Linked DNA regions of Homo sapiens: regions 1 and 3 are each linked to region 2. The links are contacts of gene promoters, found by promoter capture Hi-C in blood cells and fetal thymus (Javierre and others, 2016). All regions are on one chromosome and are shown on one strand. Each heading gives the region's core, a stretch centred on a gene start or on the middle of the fragment in contact. The rest is flanking DNA. Distances are from core to core; before and after follow the strand shown. Region 1 overlaps DNAH6 (dynein axonemal heavy chain 6). Region 2 holds the start of TMSB10 (thymosin beta 10). Region 3 overlaps TRABD2A (TraB domain containing 2A).

Region 1 (3,279 bases), core at 240-2,739, 120 kb after region 2:
AAAAATGAGTCCTTACCTTTGTCAGAAGCAGCCTGCAGAAGGCTTGTGGGTGAGGGCAGGGGGCCAGGAAGTGAAGGGCTTTTAGGGGAAGGCTGCTAAACCCTGAGCTGGCTCAGTGACCAGAGCAGACTGGGGACTCTGTAAAGGAGCAGCTCTTCACCTTAATAAGCAGCACTAAATAAAGTGATTTGCAAGATCATCTGCAGAGCTTTCACCTTTCCAGAAAGCTTTCTGTAGGGAGGGCACAAATAAAGGCCTCAGAGAAAGGGCTCTCTCTGGATATGCTTGCCTGGAGGTTCTCTCCCAGGGCTTCACAGCAGAGTGGTAGAGTGGGACCCACACAATTTGTTACCAATAAAATAGTTCCTGAGGTTTTGATTATTTTTATAGTAACACTTTAAAATGAGTAGATTCTAATTCCACTTCCTCTCTTTGCAGCCCGTTACACTTTCTTGAGTAGGCAAAAAAGTGGTGAGATAAAACTAGTGCTAGCAACTATGAGTAATGCTGAGCACGCCCATGGGTTAGGTGTGGCTCTGAGGCACATGTAAAGGTTAGTTGCCATGCGGGTTACAGAAGATAAAAGGTGGTAAAACACTACTCTAAGGGAATTGGTGGTAATTTGAACTCTGTTCCTTTACATTTCTCATTTTATAGGGAAGGATTTAATTTCCTTTGTTTGTCCTAAGTATATTTTTCTTTTTATTATGCCTATAAGTAATATATTTCAAATTCAAATGACCTCTCATAGAAGGCAATAAGAAACAGAAATGATCCAGTGGATCCTAGCCTCAACTTGGAATTCTGAAGGCCTTTTATCAAACCCTGGTTGTGTAAATTAGCTAAATCTGTCTAGGCCTCAAATTTCTCCTCTTTCATATATGGAAACACAGTGCCTACAATAATGAATTACTATAAGGAATGAATTCAACAAGAAAAGGTTACATAAAAATGTGATTATTATGCAAGGGCTATATGCTCAACATACCTGGATCTGTGAAGGTTTTAATGAGCTCTTCCATTGCCAACATCCAAGAAACAGCAAGATGGCAATTTTGCAAAAATACCCAGTTTCCTGATTTCATTGCATCCTTGACCATTTTTTCAGCAATAGGTCCTTGTCCTTGCCCCAGTGAAATTGACTGCACCCTGAATTGAACAGCAAGAACACAATATCATCTTATGCTATTTTAAAGCAAAATCAATATGAAGAAATATAAATACAGTAGACTCTTGCTTAGGATATATAAACATTTTGAATCCTCATTCCAATAGGAGTACAAGTATGTTTTCCTTATTTCTTGTTTTTAAAAATATTTTTACCATGACCCACATAGAAAAGTGCAAAAACCGAATATACAGCTCTACAAATGATCACAAATCAATACCTGCGGTTGAGAAGAGACCTGTGCTGATACACTAGAGACATTTCTCTCATGCCTCTCTCCACCGCAATGATTTCCCCTTCCTTCTTCCCACAGGTAATCATTATCCTAACTTCTAACAACACTATAGATCAGTTTTTAAACACTTAAAAAATTAAAGTCTAACATATACAGAAAAATACATATTATTAGTGTATGGGTCAATGAATTCTCACAACGCAAATGTGCACATGTACCACCACCTAGGTCAAAAAACAGTACCCCTCCTTATCCCAAAAGGCAAAAACAATTTTGAATTCTAATGCCATTGATTAATCACACAACATCTGTGAAAGCCAATGTGGGAAACTAGCTACAACTAAGAAACCTGTGCAAAGTGTTGGCTCTCTGAAAGCACCCAGAAACAAAGCCAATGAACTATACACAACATACACCACAGTCAAGCCCTCAAAGGAAAACAGGAATACAAAAAAAAAAGCCTCAACGAAATGACAGAAACTTGAAAATGATAAACACTAGCCCCCTTGGATAATTAGGAATCAGCAAAAGAATTCTGGCAATTCAAAAAATCAGTGTTTCCTTACCTCTAAAAGATTGCAATGTATCTAACCAGATTGAAATGTCTGAAATGACAGACATAGAATTCAGAACCTGGATGGCAATGAAACTCAATGAGATCTAACAGAAAGTTGAAATCCAGTCCAAAGAAGCCAGTAAAATGATCCAAGAGTTGAAAGATGACATAGCTATATGAAGAAAAAACAAAACTGAACTCCTGGAATTGAAAAATTCACCACAGGAGTTTCAAAATACAATTGGAAGCATTAACAACATACTAGGCCAAGTCAAAAAACGAATTTCAGAGCTCAAAGACTGTCCCCTCAAAACAACCCAGTTAGGCAAAAATAAAGAAAAAAGAATTTAAAAAATGGACAAAGGCTATGAGAAATATGAGATTATGCAAATAGATAAAACCTATGCCATACTGGCATTCCTGAGACAGGAGAAAAGGTAAACAACTCGGGTAACATATTTGAGAATATAGTCCATGACAGTTTTCCCAATATTGCTAGGGAGGTTGACATGCAATTTCAAGAAATTCAGAGAAACCCTGGGAGATACTATATAAGATGACCATCCCCAAGACACATAGTCATCAAACTTTCCATGATCAATGTGAAAAAAAAAATTCTTAAAGGCAGCTAGAGGAAAAGGTCAGATCCCTTACAAAGGTCGTCCTATCAGGCTAACAGCAGACTTCTCAGCAAAAACATTACAAGCCAGAAGAGATAACAGAACTATATTCAGCATTCTTAAAGAAAAGAAATTCCAACCAACAATTTCATATCCTGTCAGACTAAGCTTCATAAGCAAAGGAGAAATAAAAGCTTTTCCAGATAAGCAATTGCTAAGGCAATTCTTTACCACTAGACTAGCGTTACAAAAGATTCATAAAAGAGCTCTAAACACGGAAATGAAGGAGTGATACCTGCTACCACAAAGACACACTTAAGTCCAGAGCCCATAGACTCTATAAAGCAACTACACAATCAAGACTACAAAGCAACCAGCTAAAAACATCACAATAGGATCAAAACCTTACATATCAATATTAACCTTGGATATAAGTGGTCTAAACACCCCATTTAACAGGCACAGAGTAGCAAGTTGGATAAAAAAATAAGACCCAACCATCTATCTTCAAGAGACCCATTTGTCATGCAACAAAACCAATAGGCTCAAAGTAAAGGGGTGGAGAAAGATCTATCATGCAAAAGGAAAACAAGAGAAGAGGAAGTGACTATTCTTATATTGTAGAAATAAGACTAAATTGACAACAGTAACAAAGGACAAAGTAGGGCATTACATAACGGTAATGGGTTGAATTCAACAA
Region 2 (2,798 bases), core at 292-2,791:
GCTCTTCCCCCCTCCCCTCCCCCAGTTCTAGTGTTGGTTCTTCTAGTTCTGACGTTCCCGTTGCTGTATCCCTAGATCCCGCCTTTGTTTTAAGCTCCCGAAGAAAGGCTTCCGGAGACTTTGTGACCTCACCCAATTTCCAACATTCCAGATTGTCTTTTCTTTCTTTAAAATCAGTGTTCCCTTCTGAGTCAGCTAGGAGGAGGCCAGAGGGAAACAGTGGGGCTTTCGAAGCTTATCAAAAGCAAACCTTGCTCTTTTGAAAAAGCATTTTCCAACGCAACCTGGGGACAAAGTGGGGTTAAATTTTACACAGATTGCTTACGAGCAAGAGTTAAGTGGCTAACAAGTCATGAAATCTTACGGAGAAGCAGGTAAAGCCAAAATTAAAAACTCCCTCCGAGTCAGCCCATTCTGCGACCCACCTCCTCCCCTTTGCGGCAGGAACTCTACTCCATCGAGGGGCTTTGCTGCAGTGGCACTGCCCACGCATACTCAACTAAAAGACTCAGACCACGCCAGCCATGCCACGAGGTGTGTTTTATTTTCATTATTCATACAAATAATTTTCTATAATATCCCGGGGCAAACCGGAGAATTTGGCAGTCCGATTGGGGGGGGGTCCCTTCAGAGACCCACAGGCCGGTGGCATCGGCGCGGAGTGCCCAGGTTCACAGTGCAGCTTGTGGCTCGTGTCCATCTTGCAGGTGGCTCTTCCTCCACATCACGACTGGGGTCTCGAAGAGGACGGGGGTAGGAAATCCTCCAGGATCTTAGGAAATTTCACTCCGCTTCTCCTGCTCAATGGCTGTGGAGAGCGGGAAGCGGGCGCTGGAGGGGAGCTGCAACCCCCACCCGCAACCGAGGTGCTTCCCGGTGTGGGCGAGGCACCCACGAGGTGTGGGGATTTAGAAGGAAGCTTGGGGCTGGGGAGAAACAAGGCGCTTTGTGAAACTGAAAGAGTGGCCGGGGCCGCCCACACCGGGGACAACGGCGGGGTGGGGGGTGGAGGAGTGGGTTTGCAAGGAAGAGCAGGGTGAGGGGCTGGGCTGGGGCGCGGGAGACCGAGGCACACTCACTCTCTTTGGTCGGCAGGGTGTTCTTCTCCTGCGTCTCCGTTTTCTTCAGCTTGGCCTTATCGAAGCTGGCGATTTCCCCCATGTCTGGTTTGTCTGCCATTTTCTTAAAACAATCCTAGTGGGCAAACCAAGGCGCTTGACCTGGGCCTGGGGGCCAGCGTCCCCTTCCGCGCTCCCCGCCGACGCCTCTCGACGTGGCACTCGCGCCAAGGCGTGCCGAGCAGCCCCAAGGCCGAGGATCTGGGCGCGTCCCGCACCCCTCTTCTCGGTCCCAGGGCGTGGTCGCCGGCCCCTGCGTCCGGTCCGAGAAGGGCGCCTGTCGCGGTTGCGGCGCGCCCGCCCGGTGCACCGGATCCGACCACACCCTGGGTGGGCCCCCCGCCCCGGCGCCGCACTCACCGTGCAGTCTCGTTCCGAGCCCGAGATCCTGGTGCTCCCACTCGCGTTGCTGCAGCAAGAAACAAAAGAGCGGCGCCCGCCCCTAGCCTTATATACGCCGCGCCCCGCCCCGCCCCTCACCCGCCGCAGCAGGGGCGGTGCTGGCACCCGAGGGGCGGGAGCAGCGCGGGCTGCTCCTCGCCCTGCCGCGCCCCCCGCTGGGCTACCAGCCCGGCTGGGCGCGGCTTCTCCCGCGCCGGGCACCCCCAGCTCGCAGTGTGCCCAGCGTGGGGGCTGTAGTCGCCGCCAGAGTGGGCGCCAGGCCCCCGGCTTTGCTTTTGCGGCTACATTTCCCCCTTTCCGGGAATCTGCTGCTCACCCCGCAGAAAGGATATGGGACCGGCGTGGGAGGGTGTGTGGTTTTGTGCGTGTGCAGATATGATGTGTAGCCGTGGGTGTGGATGTGCGGGCGTGCACGCGCACTCTGCAGCAATCCTCGCTCTAGGAGACGCCCCACCCCAGTCGCCCCCAGGCCTCTTGCTTTTGCTCCTCCAGAGTCCCCTTCCCTCCCCCACTTTTCCTCTCCTTAGGGAGGCTGAGTCCTAAGGTGGTCCTGCACTAAAAGAATTCGAGCCGAGGGTCCCGTAGTGGAGCGGGGGGCGGGGGGGTGTAGGGGGAGGGGGGAATAGGTTTCCAGCGCTCTTTGCTCAGGTTGGGGGCGGTTGCCTTCTGGTCAGTCGTCCCCTGTTCCCTGAACTGGGCGGTTCCAGCAGGATCGTTGGCGTGGCGGGTGTTCCTTAAATGCTGTTAGACGCATTGTGTGAAGGGCTGTGGTGGGAACAGGGCGTCCCGAGAAGGCTCGCAGTTTGCCTTTTCTCGTCGAGCTCCTAGAAACACTGTATCAGCGGGTGCGGTTTTCCTCCTTGAAGTTAACCTTGAGGATAATAGAGACCCACATGCCTACAAACGTTCTTGTTTTTCTTATTAACCCATTGTAGGAGTGGTATACTGCAATTATTCACATCTTTCTTAGAAAAGTTGTATTTTCAGCCTGTGCAACACCGTTAGGTAATAAGTTCCATAAATTACCAGCCCCGGAGTTAAGGCTGGTCATTCTTTTATTTGTCCTGACCTTTCCTTTTTTAAGTGTGAAGTATTACCGAGCTCTTTAAAGTGGGATTTGGTGGTGACATCCTAAATTCGGTCCTGATTTTATTTATTTACTTTTTTTGAGACAGGGTCTCACTCTGTCACCCAGGCTGGAGTGCAGTGGTGTGATCACGGCTTATGGCAGCCTGGACTTCCCCGGTTCAAGTGATTCTTCCACCTCAGCCTCCTGAG
Region 3 (3,031 bases), core at 201-2,700, 65 kb after region 2:
TGCCCCACCTCCTAGCTTCTATTCCTCACAAGCCAGCTCTTGGGTTCCCTCACCTCTTGGTCACACTCATGGAAGAGTTCCAGGTTGTCTGTGTCCTCCATAAGGCAGTTCCCTAGGTGTGTCTGATTGGGGCTGATTTGGGAAGGACTGTTCTCCTTTTCTTTGGATGCTGTCCAGGGATTTGTGTTCCCTTTTTTAAGTAGCACTATCCACGTCCTTACATAACGAGCACAAAGGTGAAGGTATTTCCAGCCATGGACAAAAGAAATAAGATGGCAGCAAACAGTTGCCTTGTTAGTGAACTTAAAAGAGACCTTTCTTTTAGGTCATCTTTGCTTTGAACCAGACCCTCCTGCAGCAGGAAAGCCTGCGAGCAGGCAGTCTTCAGATCCCCTACACGACGGAGGATCTCATCAAACACTATAACTGCGGGGACCTCAGCTCCGTCATCCTCAGCCATGACAGCTCCCAGGTGAGCACCCTTTCCCCCTGCCAAGCTCAGCACACATTTAATTATAGGAATAAAAACATTACCTGGCAACATGTACATCCTGTGTACAAAGGATTGAGGTCATGAGGGCTCTAGAAATAAAGTGGGCAGATTTAGATGTCATTGAATGAGGCACTACAGCGAATGAAAGCTTTACAAACCTTGTAAGAACAGAGAGGGGCATTGATGAGGGTTAATTCCAGTATTCCAGCCAAAGGATGAAGCTTCAAAGGATTTAACAGTAGGCCACATGAACCAGCCTTGAGGAAGGGAAGGGTTCTGAGTCTGATGGCCTCCTGGCTGACTTAGGTCATACTTTTGCAAAATGATGGGGCAGAACTTTGACTGCAGCTTCAGTGGCCTCTAGGAACATGTGAACATGATATAGCTGTGTATTCACAGAATGCTTACAGGCTTAGGGCATCAGAGCTGGGAAGGCTGCTAGCATTTGCAGACGTGGATCATTGCATCCTGTGGTATTGCAGGATGAGTGTGGCTGAGCTGGTGGATTGAGTGTTTGCCCAGCTCAGGCCTTACCTGTGGGCCATTGAGTGGAAGGAAGTAGCTGCTCAGCCTCAGAAGATCATGGTCTCCTTCCAGGAGGGAAGTGGTACGGATCTTTGTTATGCTTTTATCAACAGGCTTCCCATGGGACAAGCCATGGTGCCTTCGCCTCCTCTCTAGGACTACATGCAAATAGCAAACACCAGCTAAACTTCTGAGGTAGGGGAGTGTGTTGTTTCCCCCACCCAGGACTGGTGTCCACATGCATGAAGACACTGGAGAGGGGAGACAGGAGCTAGTGGGTGTGGGTGATGCTGTACAGGTCTATGTTAAATCTGGGGACCCAACCATAAGGAGACATGTGTGAACATGAGAGCTGAAGGAGGAATAGCAGCAATGGGGAGAAGGACAGTACAGGCTGAGTGCAGCATCAGCCCAGAAAGGTGACATTTCATTAATGACAGAAGCCTCAAAAGATGTAAGGAGCATCCCCAAAAATCTAGAGGAAAAAAAAGTCAAATTGAGACAAAGTGAAGCAGGAGGAAAGGGAGAACAAGAAACACATTAAAGAAGGAAAAATAGAGTTGGTGGTGGTGATAAATCTTACCTGCACTCTTGCTGAGGGTAGGGAAGGGGGGAGAAAAGTCAAGATCAATTGGGAAATTGACATTTGAAGCAGCAGAAAAAAGTTAATGTGGGCGGAGGATTTGGTCATTACGTGGGCAAATGGTGAGGCTGATGGAGCAGATAATACAGATGTCTTATGCATTTTTCTCCTGTGGCTTTCCCATATCTGTTCTGCCCACAGGGCCCCTACAGGAGGTCAGGGAATGTGCTGTCACTGTGAGTGAGGGCCAGGCTGGCCAGCAGGGAGTGGTGCAGGCTTTGGGTGATGTTTGGAATTTAGAAGGTGGAGCAGGATGTCAGAGGGAGGTCACCCTGTGTATCTGACGCTGCCTCTGTAGAGAGGCTGGTAGAGAGGGGGGCTCTGCTGAAGAGAAGAGATTTTGGGAAATGGGCAGGGGATCTTACATAAATGACATGATTAAAAAAAAAGATGACAGAGTAGAAGATGAAGGCTGTCGATTTGAAAATGAAAGAATATCATTTCGAGGCCGTCGCAAAAGGAGATCTGTTATCCATAAGATGGAAGTTAATGCTGTCACAGAGTCTGAGGACTTTGGAAAGCTTTTTGAGAGGCTACTGGAAGCAGCAGCAGCAGGCAGGGTAGATACTGACCAAGATAATGGGTAACATTGTTAAGTCCCTGGGTGGAGGAGAGAGCATGCACCCAGGGGGAGGAGTGGGAGGCTGAGGTTTGGGAAGCCAGACAGCTGAGGGGGTGGGGAGAAAACACAGAGTGCCAGCCTTACCTGTAGCTCCTGGGCTGCAAGAACCACGCTGATTGTCACAATTTTGATGCACTTTCATCCTGTTATTAGCCAAAATACTGAAACTGGCTAACATGTATACCAGAATCAGTGAAATATTTGCCAGGAGGGCAAAGAACATTGGGGAAAGCAAGAGAGAGAAATAGGAAGTGGAGAAATAATGAAAATGTAAAGTAGAGGATTTATAAAACATTTAAGTGTTTATACAAATTTCATGTTTTCGGTAATAGAATCTAAAATATGTAACTATATAAGACTATTTTTATAAGAAAAGCATGTATGAATCACACAAGTTAAAACTATGGATGTACTGTGCAAAGACAGTGTCCTTTTTTTTTTTTTATAAACACACGGCATCAGACAGAGCCATTTAACTAAAACAGAAGTGCAGTTGTAAATAGTGTAAGAGTTCATTCAATGCACTTCACTTAATATTTTTTTCACTTTGGTTACAGGGAATGTGATAGAGTGGGAAACATAGCAGACAGGAAACTCCAAGAATGGTGTCACTCTTCTCTTGACAACGTCTTGACCATCTAGGTTGGGGGATTTGATGCTCCAATGAAGTAACTTTGTTAATAACTCTGTTGCCCCTTATTTTTTTTTCTCTTTATTTTGGTGGAGGTTCCCAATTTTATTAATGCCA

Evidence for each region. Contacts are between HindIII fragments. The CHiCAGO score rates a contact against its expected background, and 5 or more counts as called.
Region 1: a fragment that was not itself captured here is called in contact with the fragment with the promoter of TMSB10 in region 2 in 3 of 17 cell types (non-activated CD4 T cells, naive CD8 T cells and naive CD4 T cells); the score reaches 9.9 in non-activated CD4 T cells.
Region 3: a fragment that was not itself captured here is called in contact with the fragment with the promoter of TMSB10 in region 2 in 1 of 17 cell types (non-activated CD4 T cells); the score reaches 7.5 in non-activated CD4 T cells.

What each region holds. Positions count from the first base shown.
Region 1 is chr2:84,779,363-84,782,641 of GRCh38, reverse strand. DNAH6 (dynein axonemal heavy chain 6) reads right to left here. Exons shown (of 77, transcript NM_001370.2): 65 at 989-1,149. Among named protein-coding and RNA genes, the nearest start is that of TRABD2A, 100 kb to the left of the region's middle. The HindIII fragment of the contact is 2,520 bases long and covers 230-2,749 here.
Region 2 is chr2:84,904,399-84,907,196 of GRCh38, reverse strand. TMSB10 (thymosin beta 10) reads right to left here and starts at 1,541. Exons shown (of 3, transcript NM_021103.4): 1 at 1,479-1,541; 2 at 1,080-1,194; 3 at 526-808. The coding sequence starts at 1,179. The coding sequence ends at 774. LOC105374836 (a long non-coding RNA gene) reads left to right here and starts at 176. Exons shown (of 2, transcript XR_940308.3): 1 at 176-534. RefSeq lists enhancers at 215-274, 79-1,278 and a silencer at 1,245-1,784. The HindIII fragment of the contact is 2,703 bases long and covers 922-2,798 here.
Region 3 is chr2:84,839,302-84,842,332 of GRCh38, reverse strand. It overlaps TRABD2A (TraB domain containing 2A), which reads left to right. Exons shown (of 7, transcript NM_001277053.2): 3 at 326-472; 4 at 3,010-3,031. Among named protein-coding and RNA genes, the nearest start is that of TRABD2A, 40 kb to the left of the region's middle. The HindIII fragment of the contact is 1,468 bases long and covers 717-2,184 here.